Linked DNA regions of Homo sapiens: region 1 is linked to region 2. Evidence: promoter capture Hi-C in human tissues and cell types (Jung and others, 2019). All regions are on one chromosome and are shown on one strand. The core of a region is centred on a gene start or on the middle of the fragment in contact, and the rest is flanking DNA. Distances in the headings are between cores, read along the strand shown. Region 1 has its middle 50 kb from the start of LINC01946. Region 2 holds the start of SPAST (spastin).

Region 1 (5,977 bases), core at 3,231-5,730, 210 kb after region 2:
GTTTACATTATTGACTAAAGATAGTTAAACCAATTGTTAGTACTAAAAGAATTTATGCTGAAATGTAGGTTTGGGGACTCAGTGTCTACAGGATATCATGTTTCACTCAGGTATTTACAGTAGAGCTATTATTAGATTCAAAATTGCCCGATTCTAATTTATATTTTAAGTGTAACTTAGAGATTTTTGCATTATTTACAGCTTTATTTTCACAATTCATTTATGCTTATTTTTTAAATGGAGACATTAACTTTTAGGTGATAGAAATGTAGGTAAACGTGTGGTATTTAAGTCATTACTAGTTTATTACTAGAAAGGCACTTTGGTACAATATGTGATATCTGCTTTTATATGGTACAACCAGATGTTCTTTTGATTTTCCTTGGAATTTCACCTTTTTAAACCGAAGAAACATTTGTTCATACGTAATAGCTTGAGGTTTCTGTGCCCAACTCACGTGACAAAATGGCTTTAGAAAAATATTTTTTAGCAGTAATTTTATAGTAATTTCAATAATATATGGTAACAGAAAGCTTGTCAGTTAGAATCTTTAGCTTTTCTTGCCAGCTTCTACCCAATTCTTCCCCCTCAACCCCCGACGCTTGTTTTTAGTGGTAACATTGCTACCACCGTCTCTACAAAGTTAGGATAACTAATATTTGAAAGTGGAGTTGTTTTCAACAAACTTTAGTATTTCTGCCCAAGATGAACAAGTATAATGATGGGGATACTTTACTTCTCTCATAACAGAGCTTGCAGTGCTCAATATTAAAGAATAAAATTACAGACCTTTACCAAGTTGTGTACTCATTTGCAAATCAGCTGAGGAGCACTCTCAAGAAAGTAACAGATGGATTGTTTTAAAAAAAGAGAGACACTGAAATTTTTGATCATGGGAATTTTGTCATGTTCAATGAAAAGTAATGTTCTGTCAAATGAAAATAATGAGGTTCATAAATGGGAATATATAAGACAAAAATATGAATAGCCAAAATACGTTTAAAAAATCTAAACTATTGAACATAAATTAAATTGGTTATCCCTGGGAAAAGATACTGTATATTTTAATGATCTCTGTGTATTTGGGAACTATAGCAGTAAATGCAAAGATACATCTTGCCTGTCTCTCCCGGTTTTAAGTTAATTGACACAGATATTTCAATAGTAGTATTACTCGTTAAAATTCTGCAATACTTATTACCTGGTATCATTTAAAAAGATATTTTCTCTAAGATAAAAGATACTAATGAAGATAGAAGACACCAATCTGTTTCCATCCTCCTTTTCTCTCTTGCATTTTCCCTTCTGTGTATTAGAAACAATAACAAAGGCCTGCTTTTATAGTCTTGACAAATCGTTTCTTACCTGAAAGGAACTTGGGTTTTCTCTTTTTAAGCTAGCTCTTAGTCTGTAGCTTCTGATAGCAAGTAATCTCTTCATTCTCTAGTATCCTTTGCCATGACTTAAAAATGGAGACTATAGCTTAATTGATTGAATACTCTGACCTAGCAGTCCCATGTTTGAGTGCAGGGATGGTGTTGGGCATTTTATCCCCTGGTAGTGATATTCTAGAATGCTTTATGTTCCTACCCCCTAAAAAATCCTCCAAATCCTTCATATTCTCAAGTAGCACTTATAACTTTAGCATTATTGCCTAACACAACAGTTCTACCATTAATCATACTACATGTTCATCCTTCTAAATGTCATTATCAATTTAGGTAGCCTGTAAGAGTATTGAATTTAAGGAAAAGGGTGAAGGGAAGATAAAACCATTTATATAAAAGTGCTGGGTTTCATTGCTTGTGGTAAATAATGTTTTAATTTTTTGCCAAGTGAAAACAAATCTTTAAAAGGAAAGGAAAACAATTATTTTATGGAAATATTTTGTAAACATGTATGTAAAGACATTGTTTTCTTTGCCACCAACAAATTGTTAATAAAAAAGTTTTTTTTTAGTTTCTTCTTGAATGAGGTTCCTTTGTGTATAGTAGGGCAAATTATTCAGGCCTTAAAAAAAAAATCTTCAATCTGAGTTTATTTAATCAGATGTCAACAGAAAGGTTGCAGCTTCTTCCATTTTGTTGTTATTTTCAACCAATGTCTTTTCCCTCTTTTTAAGAAAAAAGTCATTGTTTTTTAAATACTATTTTTGGATGAATTATGTCTGTAGAATGGTTGACCAACAGCATTTGCTAAACTATTGAAAAACTAATGATTGGTTGGTCATCTCTATCTATGATGTACTTTCATTCATGAAAACCAATGAGTTCTCATGATAAATAACTCTTGGAAATAGAAACTCTGCTTACTAACATGTACTTGCTGAGGGTAATAATCCGGCATTATACATACAGTATGTGAGGGGAGGGGAATTGCTTATCCTAACAGTGTTTTCCCGCATTCTCACACATTGTACTCATCATTGTAAGTCTTTCTAGAGTATTGTTCTTGATTTTGGACCCCAACATAAAGAGGAGAAAAAGTTCAAGGTAAGTGACAGACATGAACATCAATTTGAGGAAATTGGATTTGGAGGAAAAGTTAAGTAAAAAACGTTGAATCTAAAAGAGTTGACTGTATCTTTATATTTGAGAAGGAACATGCTCTATGTGATGGTGAAGAGCTGTTTTCTGTTTTAGTCAATAGTTTTAGGCTGAGTGCGGTGGCTTACACCTGTAATACCCACAGTTTAGGAGGCTGAGGTGGGAGGATTGATTGAGGCCAGGAGTTCGAGACCAGTCTGGAAAACAAAGACCCCATCTCTACGAAAACATAGATAGATAGATAGATAGATAGATAGATAGATAGATAGATAGATAGATAGATAGATAGAGATAAAGATAGATGATGGAGATTAGATAGTTTTAAACAGACATTAATGAGTCTGGACCTTGGAAAAAACTTATGCAACTTTAGGAACATAACATCACACAGTCATGGGAAATTTTGGTGAAGAAAAGGGGAGATGACCGTTCATCCGGAATTGTTTAGCTAAATTCTTCCCCAGGAAACTCTTCAGAGATTATGTGATCTTTACAAATTTTTTTTAGCTCAAGGTAGGATTGTAGAATATATTATTAAAGGTAACACCACAAGCCCTTTTGTGTGGTATATGTTGTGGGTGTGGGAGGAAAGCGAGAGAGAATATGTCCCAGAATAAAAGTTTTAGAATCATTACCTTAAGTTCAAATGTATAAACAGAGTGGTCAACTTCATGGTTGATGCTTAGGCCATGTAACATACAATACAAATTATACAAATACTTAGAGATTATATATGTGAAAGTCCTAGACAGTTCAGTGAAAACTGATGTGATATAAAACTACAGCTTTTGAAAATGCAAAATTAAAAATTTTTTTTTTTGGGTAACTACTAGAATCCCTTAGGACCACTATGAAAATTTGGTACAACTGTGCTTAAATGTTTTGAGAACCTACTTTGTCAACCTCAGCATTTTCCTCAGGTTTTAGTTTGGAATTGGTTTCATGTTCTTGATTTTATTCTAATTGGTTTATGTCACATACTTCTTACAAATCTTAATACTAGTTACAATCTGATAACCTACTCTGGGAGAGTGTTTTAGTCCTGAAAATAATCATAAAAAGAATAGGTAAGTATCCTCACTTTACACACTTTAGAAAGTTTAAGTAACTGATTTGATGCCACTTCACCGATAAGTGGCTGAACCAGTATATAAATTTAGATCTTTAAGAGCTATATAGAAAACATGGTGCCCTCTGGTAAGATTTTTCTTTTTAAGTGAAGTTCATTTTCTTCATGGAATAAGATAGTGTAGTTCAGCAAATATTGAGTACCTGCCACATGACAAACTGTATGTTCTTTAAGAACCGTATGAAATTGCTGATATTTAACTGTTGTTTACTTATACAAACTGCAACTTAGTGTGATTCAATCTTATACTTTATGTTATTTAATTCTTACAATAATCCCATTTTTAGATAGATGTTTTCATGGCTTAGAAAACATTTCTGACCAAGAATAGTTTCTATACTTGTGGAGACACTCATAGCCAAAAACTTGGATGGTCTAGGTTCCCTCAGCCCCCCGAAATAAACCTTAGTCTGTTTAAGATGTGTAAAGAATATGCTCTAAGATGACCCCTGATGACTCCTGTGCCTCTTGATGTTTATGACGTTTTGTAATGCCTTCCCCTTGAGTAAATTTCTTCTAATCATCATTGTGGGTATGTCACTTCTTGCTAGCAGACTCTCTCCCTTGCTGGCTTTGATGAAGCAAATTACCATGTTGGGAAAGTCCACACAGCAAGGAACTGAGGGGAGCTTCTGCTCAGCAGCCAGCTAGGCTGATCCATTAAAAAAAGGGAAAGACATTAGGCTTCATTTTTACAACTAATGCTCAATGTCAAGAGACAATGACAAGAATGAGAAGACAAGTCACAAACTGGGAGAAACATTTCAGCGGGGAGTAAGCTTATTCAAGGGCATTTACCTATTAGGGAGGCAGAGTTGGGATTTGAGTCCAGCCTAACTTGCTCCAAAACCAACGTTCATTTCAGTCATTTCAGTTGTTCCCTGAACTTTTTGGAATTTGTGAATCTGGTAAATTTCCTGCTCAATATTTCCTCATTTTGCTGTCTAGGAAGATACCACTTTTTCTCTCCCATTTTCCATATGCCTCGCCTTTCCATATGTGTCAGAGAGCAGTAAATTATTCCTGAAACATCATTTGTCAACCCTTTCTGTTGCTTTCTCTACCCTCCTTTAATTGATATTCCTCTGAATTTCTGTAGCCTGTTTCCCATGCAGTTTTAGTACTCTGTTATTTTCTCTATTAGATTATAAATTTCCTCAACACAGAAGCTTAATGCTTTTATACTTCCTATAGTTGCTGGTCTTGCATTCAACATTTAGTAGAATCAATAATAACTGTGTTTTTTCCCTGAACATGGACTGAGCATAAAACAAGACTTACTCTTGATGCTTTTAGCCGGGTTTAGTGTGGTCTGGTACTGGATACTTTGAAATGGTGACCCCTGCAAATGCCTCCATACTCCTTTCCTTCCTGAGAACGTAAACATTTGGCCATTTAATTCAAGGCATTCACTTTAGCAAGTGTTTTGAGACATTATCTTTGGCTAGAGTCACACAAAAAGTCAAATAAAGAGAAAAAAGAAATTTAAAAAGTTTTGAGGCATTAGCTGGGCACATGGCTCATGCCTGTAATTCCAGCACTTTGGGAGGTGGAGGCAGGCGGATCACTTGAGGCCAGACCAGCCTGGCCAACATGGCGAAAGCCTGTCTGTACTACAAATACAAAAATGAGCTGGGCATGGTGCCGTGCGCCTGTAACCCCAGCTACTCTGGAGGCTGAAGAGGAGAATTACTTGAACCTGGGAAGCTGAGGTTGCAGTGAGCCGAGGTCACACCACTCCATCTTGGGCGACAGAGTGAGATTCCGTCTCGGGGCCGGCGGAGGGAGGAAGGTTTTGAGACTAAGAATAAACTGTTTCTTTCCCCACCAACCAGGCAAATGCTAGCTGATACTGTAAGCTTAGAAGTTTCTTTTATCCACACCTTGGCCATATTCTAACCCATAAATACATTAAAATAAAAATAAAAAACTTCCAGGAAGAAATCAAATATAACATTTTTATTTTAAATGGATAGAAAAAAAGTCACTTATAGTCTCATTCTCCAAAGATTATCACTGCAAATTTTTATTCTTTAATCTTTCTGGTACAGTAGGTCTAATACTTTTTGAGCATACGATGTGTGTGTTTCTATCTTTTTAAAGTAGAATTCCACCATGTATACAGTTTTGTTATTGCAGTTTCTAAACTCAGTTTTTATCTGGGTTTTCTTTCCTGATGTCAGCTTATTTTAGAAAAAATAGCCAATTCAAAGTTTTCTCAGTCAACTCAAGAAAGTGTTCTCAGTCAACTCAGAGACTGTCCCATTCATTCTTTCTTTCTACATGATAACTGTATACAAAA
Region 2 (6,736 bases), core at 3,584-6,083:
GATCGCGCCATTGCACTCCAGCCTGGGTGAAGAAGCGAGACTCTGCCTCAAAAAAAAAAAAAAGAGCTGTCAACAGCCCATTCTGATGTCCACATTAGAAATCAAAATATGTGCCGGGCGCGGTGGCTCACGCCTGTAATCCCAGCACTTTGGGAGGCCGAGGCGGGTGGATCACGAGGTCAGGAGATCGAGACCATCCTGGCTAACACAGTGAAACCCCGTCTCTACTAAAAATACAAAAAATTAGCTGGGCATGGTGGCGGGCGCCTGTAGTCCCAGCTACTCGGGAAGCTGAGGCAGGAGAATGGCGTGAACCCGGGAGGCGGAGCTAGCAGTGAGCCGAGATCGCGCCACTGCACTCTAGCCTGGGCGACAAAGCGAGGCTCTGTCTCAAAAAAAAAAAAAAAGAAAAGAGAAAAGAAATCAAAATATAAAGAAAAAGTTGTGAACAGAAACATTATCAGTAGGAAGAGTATGAAATATGCATTACGCAGGAGAATGGCGTAAACTTAAACATACCACTTTACAATAAAACCTAATTTATTTTTTTTTTATTGTTCAAAATATTGTTGAAATTTCTCCAGCCTGGCTAACATAACAAGATCCTATCTCTAGCAAAAAAAAAAAAAAGAGGATCACTTAAGCCTAGGAATGAGCCTTGAGGCTGCAGTGAGCTATGATCACATTCCACTCCAGCTTGGGTAAGAGAGTGAAACACTGTCTCTAAAATAAATTAAATAATTATTTTTATATATTTAATATATCCAACTGAAAAATAAAAATGTTTAGGAGGATTTAAGTATAATAGATATATTCATATATGTGATACTGAAAGATTTAAGTCACCAGCCTGAGACCTGAGGTCTGAATTCTATTTCTTCCACTTATTCCTCACATGGAACTGCTATTTCTTCAAATCTAAGAGCTCAGGGTCTTTTATTTTTCATGCCTAGGTTTTCCTTAATTTCTCCTTTTATCCTACCTCCCAACTCCCATCAACCAACAGTGTTAACTAAAATTTCCTTGTGGTCGGTCACCGCGGCTCACACCTGTAATCCCAGCACTTTGGGAGGCCAAGGAGGGCGGTTCACTTGAGGTCAGGAGCTCGAAACCAGCCTGGCCAACATGGTGGAACCCCATCTCTACTAAAAACACAAAAATTAGCTGGGCGTGGTGGCATACACCTGTAATCCCAGCTGCTCAGGAGGCTGAGGCAGGAGAATCGCTTGAATCCGGGAGGCAGAGGTTGCAGTGAGCCAAGATCATACCATTGCACTCCAGCCTGGGCAACTGAGCGAGACTCCGTCTCAAAAATAAACAAATAAAAAAAATTTCCTTGCATGTTCTGACTTTCTCTTCCTAAATAAAACAATTAAAACAGTTTTTTTTTTTTTGGTTTTTTTTTTTTTTTTTTTTGAGACAGTTTTACTCCTGTCACCCAGTTCGGAGTGCAGTTGCACGATCTCAGCTCATTGCAGCCTGAACAACCTGAGCTCAAGTGATCCTCCTACCTCAGCCCCCCAAGTAGCTGGGACTACAGGCATTTGCCACTGCGCCTAGCTAATCTTTGTATTTTTCACAAAGACAGGGTTTCACTATGTTGCCCAGGCTGGTCTCAAACTCCTGGGCTCAAGCAATCCACCCACCTCAGCCTCCCAAAGTGCTGGAATTACAGGCATGAGCCACCGTGCCCAGCCAAAAATGACCTACTTTTTTTTTTCAAGACGGAGTCTTGCTCTGCCGCCCAGGCTGGAGTGTAGTGGCACGATCTCGGCTCACTGCAACCTCCACCTTCCAGGTTCAAGCACTTCTCTTGCCTCAGCCTCCTGAGTAGCTGGGACTACAGGCATGTGTCACCATGCCCAGCTAATTTTTGTATTTTTAGTAGAGATGGGATTTCACCATGTTGGCCAGGATGGTCTCAAACTCTTGACCTCATGATCCACCCGCCCCGGCCTCCCAAAGTGTTGGGATTACACGCGTGAGCCACCATGACTGGCCCAAAAAATGATCTACGCTTAAACATGTTCCTCTATTCTAAAACTTTGCAACCGTTTTAATTCTCCCCAAGGGATCCTGGATGTTCTTAAGAGGTGATAAAGAATGGAGCTTGCTGGGTGGGCACAGTGGCTGACACCTGTAATCCAAGCACTTGGAAGGTCGAGGCAGGCGAATCACCTGAGGTCAGGAGTTCGTGACCAGTCTGGCCAACATGGTGAAACACCATCTCTACTAAAAATACAAAAAATTAGCCAGCCGTGATAGGGCGCACCTGTGGTTCCAGCTACTCGGGAGACTGAGGCAAGAGAATCGCCTGCGTCTGGGAGGCAGAGGTTGCAGTAAGCTGAGATCACGCCACTGCACTCCAGTCTGGGTGACACAGGGAGACTCCATCTCAAAAAAAAAAAAAAAAAAGAATGGAGCAGTTAACAAAAAATTTCCTTCTACAAACACATAGTATTCTTAAATGTTAACACCCTCCTTGACCTCTCTTAACCGTCACTCTTTCCTTACTGTCCAAAACAATGAATAACTGCCTCTTTCCTTATATCCCACTTCCCACTCCCAGGCCCCACAAAGGAAACAGGTTTCAACAAGATTGAAATTCTAGAACAGTTTTTGGAGTTGGCAGTAGAGACAGACACTATGAATGAAGTGCAGATTGTTTCTGTTTTCACTAATGGACAATGCAAGTGAGTATCTAATTGAGGTGTGGTAGAAAAGTGGGTGTTTTTGGCAGAGGGAGAAGCAAGATCTCAGCATACTGGAAGTAAGGATAAAAGGGGAGAATTGTAAAAGTTAGACTTCTCCTAATTTCACTTATTTTCCATAAAAGAAATTTCATTATTAGCACAGGTTTGGAATAACCTCCTTTATCTTTTGGGCCTCATTTTCTTCATCTCTAAAATGCTGATACCAATAATACCTTCATCTCACAAAGTTATTGTGAGGATTAAATAACACTTTTCATGGTCTGGGATGGTTGCTATTTTTTTTAAAAAGAAAAAAGATAACACATGCAAAGCTAATAGCACAATGCCTGGCACATATAATAAAAAATGTTAGCTTAAGGCCAGGCGCGGTGGCTCATGCCTGTATTACCAGCACTTTGGGAGGCCGAGGCGACCCGATCACGAGGTCAGGAGATGGAGACCATCCTGGCCAACATGGTGAAATCCCTACTCTACTAAAAATACAAAAATTAGCCAGGCGTGGTGGTGCGTGCCTGTAATCCCAGCTACTCGGGAGGCTGAGGCAGGAGAATCGCTGGAACCAGGGAGTCGGAGGTTGCAGTGAGCCGAGACTGCACCATTGCACTCCAGCTTGGGCGACAGGGCGAGATTCCGTCTCAAAAAAAAAAAAAAGTTAGCTTAAAAGAAACCCGAAAGATGTAGTATCCTTGCTTTCATTCAGAAACATACATAGTTGTTTTAGGTTTTACTGTAAAGTGGTATGTTTAAGTTTACGCAATCCATTCATCAAACATTTCAACTTGGAAATTAAAGGCTACTTTGGAATACTGTTTTAATTAAAATCAAAGCAACAGGGGGAAAAGTTTTATGCTAAATATAACTTCATTGAAAAAGTATTCAGGAATCGTTGTACTGATAAAATGATTATCTTGATTAAAATGATGCAAATTCAACTGCAGTCATATGCAGCTATTTCTTTCAAAATTGTCACCATTTGTTCTTTTTTTCTGACACTACAATACTCTGCTTTCATTAAAAGCCAGTAAGGCGGCACTGCTTCTTCAATATCAAAACCTTTTGGAAACCTTGGTTCAGAGGAAGCTGCACACTCTTCACAGTGCTAGAAAGGATCAGTGTGGTCACTCTAGGACAAATGTCACTGTCATCAACACGTCTGGGTGTCTCATAGTGACCTGGGTCATGCAGAAGTGTGGGGGAAGGCTGGTGTCTGAAACAAAGTCGACAGCTACAGTGCCCTGAAAGGGGAGAGGTTTTAAGAATACTAGAAGATGAGGCTCCGACCTACGGGAAAGCAGTCTCCCGGGGCATATCAATTCCGGGGGTGCACCGTCCCCTCCCGCAGAAAAGGGACGCAGGTGTTGCCCTCCCCCGGCGACCCCACCGCCTTCTTCCCGGCGCCGCCGCCCCCTCCCCCAGCCCCCTAGTTACCTTTCTCATCCTCATCGATGCGCAGGGCAATGGAGATGTACTCGAAGGCCTGTTTGTGGAAGACTCGGACGCGCTCGGCCTCGCCGCCCGGCACCGGCGCCGGGGCCGAGGCCGAGGCAGGTGCTGGCGCGGCCCCGGAGCTCCTCTTGGCTGCCATGAGGGCGCGGGAGAAGCGCTGGCAGAGCCACACGAAGAGGAGCCCCAGGTGGAAGGCGACCAAACGCAGCAGCGCGAAGCCTACAAACAGCGGGTAGGAGAAATAGTACAGGTTCCGCTTATGCGGCGACTCGGGCGGAGGGGCCGGCCCGGCGGCGGGAGGGGCGGGGGCCAGGCAAGGGGGCGGAGGCCTGGGAGGCACCGGGTTGCTGGCGCCGCCGGAGCCTTTCTTCTTCCCTCGTCCACCCGGAGAATTCATTCACAGCTCTCACTGCCGCCGCCGCCATAACCCGCCTCCCGCAGACCGACGGGAACCAAGCGACGGCGGCAGCCACTGCTACGGCGGGGGCCACAGACCCCCGTGTGCCCGCCGGTCTCAGGAGCTCCGCACTGCCGCACGCTGCCCGCCGGCCCCGCCCCTTTCTCCTTCCTCGGCCAGGAGCACAACCCCTTCTCCTCCTGCAGTCGGTGGCTCGGGCCCCTCCCTTCCTGTCGCTGTCCTCTCCGCCGCCTGGTGGCTCCCAGCGGCGGCCGCGCACGCGCACGTCTTCCCGTGTTTTTCTCCGGCGCGCGCGCGCACGGCGCGTCTTTGTTGACCGGGGCCCCTGTACGCGTGTGCGGCCCCCGCCTCTCGGCTTTCCCACTCAACTACAGTTCCCAATGTGCAGTTCGGCTCACGTCGGCAGCCCTGGAGAGCTCCTGCCAGGAAGCCTTCGTAATCGATCCACGGAAGGGGGAATTGCGGCTTGGGGTCGCTCTGCTGGTTCGCTAGGCTCCTCTCTCAGTGTCGTCGTTTTCTTAGATTTCTTTCATCTTTTTCTGCCAGGCGACCTAAGTCTTCTCCGAAGGATAATTGGCCCATCTCAGAAGCAATGGATATCAATCTGGGAATTAAATTAGCCGGGCGTGGGGGCGCGCGCCTGTAGTCCCAGCTGGTTGGAAGGCTAAGGCCGGAGAATCGCTTGAACTCGGGAGGCAGAGGCTGCAAGTGAGCTGAGATCGCGCCACTGCACTCCAGCCTGGGCGACAGAGCGAGACTCCGTCTCCAGAAAAAATAAAATAAAAATTTAAAATCTGGGAATTATTTGAGAGGAAAGCAATTGTGAAGATAAGAAACTTCAGGTCACTGCAAACAACAGCAACAAAAATGTTAGCTCAGTGTGATGAGATCAACTAACCCAGGGGTTTAACTAAATTAGTGCATATTTAGATGTCTAATATGAAAGATAATTTATTTGAATAAGGGAAATCTTAGGTTTTGCATAGTTACCATCCCATAGTTTACTGAAGAATCTACACTTTTTTTTTAATCTACTCAGCATCCCTTCCTTTGGGAAACTACCTGCTTGTCTCTGCTCCCTGTATTCTAATGAGCTGCAAGCACAGAACCCAGACCGCAAAGGCGGAAGCAAACACTAGGTCAGTCAGATTCTCCTGGGACCTGGAATCTTGGCTGGAGACCCACCGAATAGAAAGTAACTGGAAACGAGTGCTCTTAAGAGCGGGTTTATCAATGCATCACATTGAGCTCCCCCAGAGCTGCTGGGTTCCTGACTGGTCACTTGGTTATGTAATCTATCCAATACACTAATCAGTCTGTTTCTCTGTTTCTCTCTTCCTCTCTCCTTTCCCCCTTCCTTCCTTTCGTCTTTTCCTCTCTCTCCCTCTCTCTCTATCTCCACGTCTTTTTTCTCTTCTCTTTCTCTTTTTACTTGAGTTAGCCATAATTATTTCTTGTTTCCTAAAACTAAGGAAGCCAAACTGATAAAAAGACTCCGTTATTTACAATGTGAGGTTTCCAAATGCCCCATGAGAGCTTCCAGCTTCCAAGAATCTCCACATTCTGCCACAGCTTTATTTTTTTATTTTTTGGACAGGGTTTCACTCCATTGCCCAGGCTGGAGTGCAGTGGCGCAAACAACATGACTCACTGCAACCTCCACCTCCCTGGCTCAGGTGATCCTTCCACCTCAGCCTCCCGAGTAGCTGGGATCACAGGCACACGCCACTGGGCCCGACTAATTTTTGTATTCTTTATAGAGCCAGGGTTTCACCATGTTGCCCAGGCTGGTCTCCAACTCCTGGGCTCAAGCAATCCGCCTGCCTCAGCCTTCCAAAGTGTTGGGATTACAGGCATGAGCCACCCCATCGCGCCCCCAGCTAATTTTTTTACTTTTTTGTTGAGACAGGGTCTTGCTATGTTTCCCAGGTTGGTCTTGAATTCCTGGGCTCAAGCAACCTGCCCGCCTCGGCCTCCCAAAGTGCTGGGATTACAGGCATGAGCCACAGCACCAGCCAATTTTACTTAATTATTCCCCGCCAGTACTGCCCTACAAATGTCACAGGCTATTGCAAAAATGACCTACTCCCTGTTTCCCTCTTATTGCTCCCCCTTCTCTGTGCTTATGCTAGACCCTCATTCTGAAATGCCCTCTTTC

The links. Contacts are between HindIII fragments. The study calls those that stand out against the background at their distance.
Region 1: a contact is called between a fragment that was not itself captured here and the fragment with the promoter of SPAST in region 2, in 1 of the 25 tissues and cell types used here (adrenal gland).

Annotation. Positions count from the first base shown.
Region 1 is chr2:31,851,200-31,857,176 of GRCh38, reverse strand. No RefSeq gene overlaps it. Among named protein-coding and RNA genes, the nearest start is that of LINC01946, 50 kb to the right of the region's middle. The HindIII fragment of the contact is 3,972 bases long and covers 2,495-5,977 here.
Region 2 is chr2:32,061,653-32,068,388 of GRCh38, reverse strand. SPAST (spastin) reads right to left here and starts at 4,833. Exons shown (of 17, transcript NM_014946.4): 1 at 4,143-4,833. The coding sequence starts at 4,557. RefSeq lists silencers at 3,970-4,099, 4,130-4,549, 4,610-4,749 and enhancers at 4,121-4,921, 4,970-5,039. The HindIII fragment of the contact is 21,143 bases long and covers 1-6,736 here.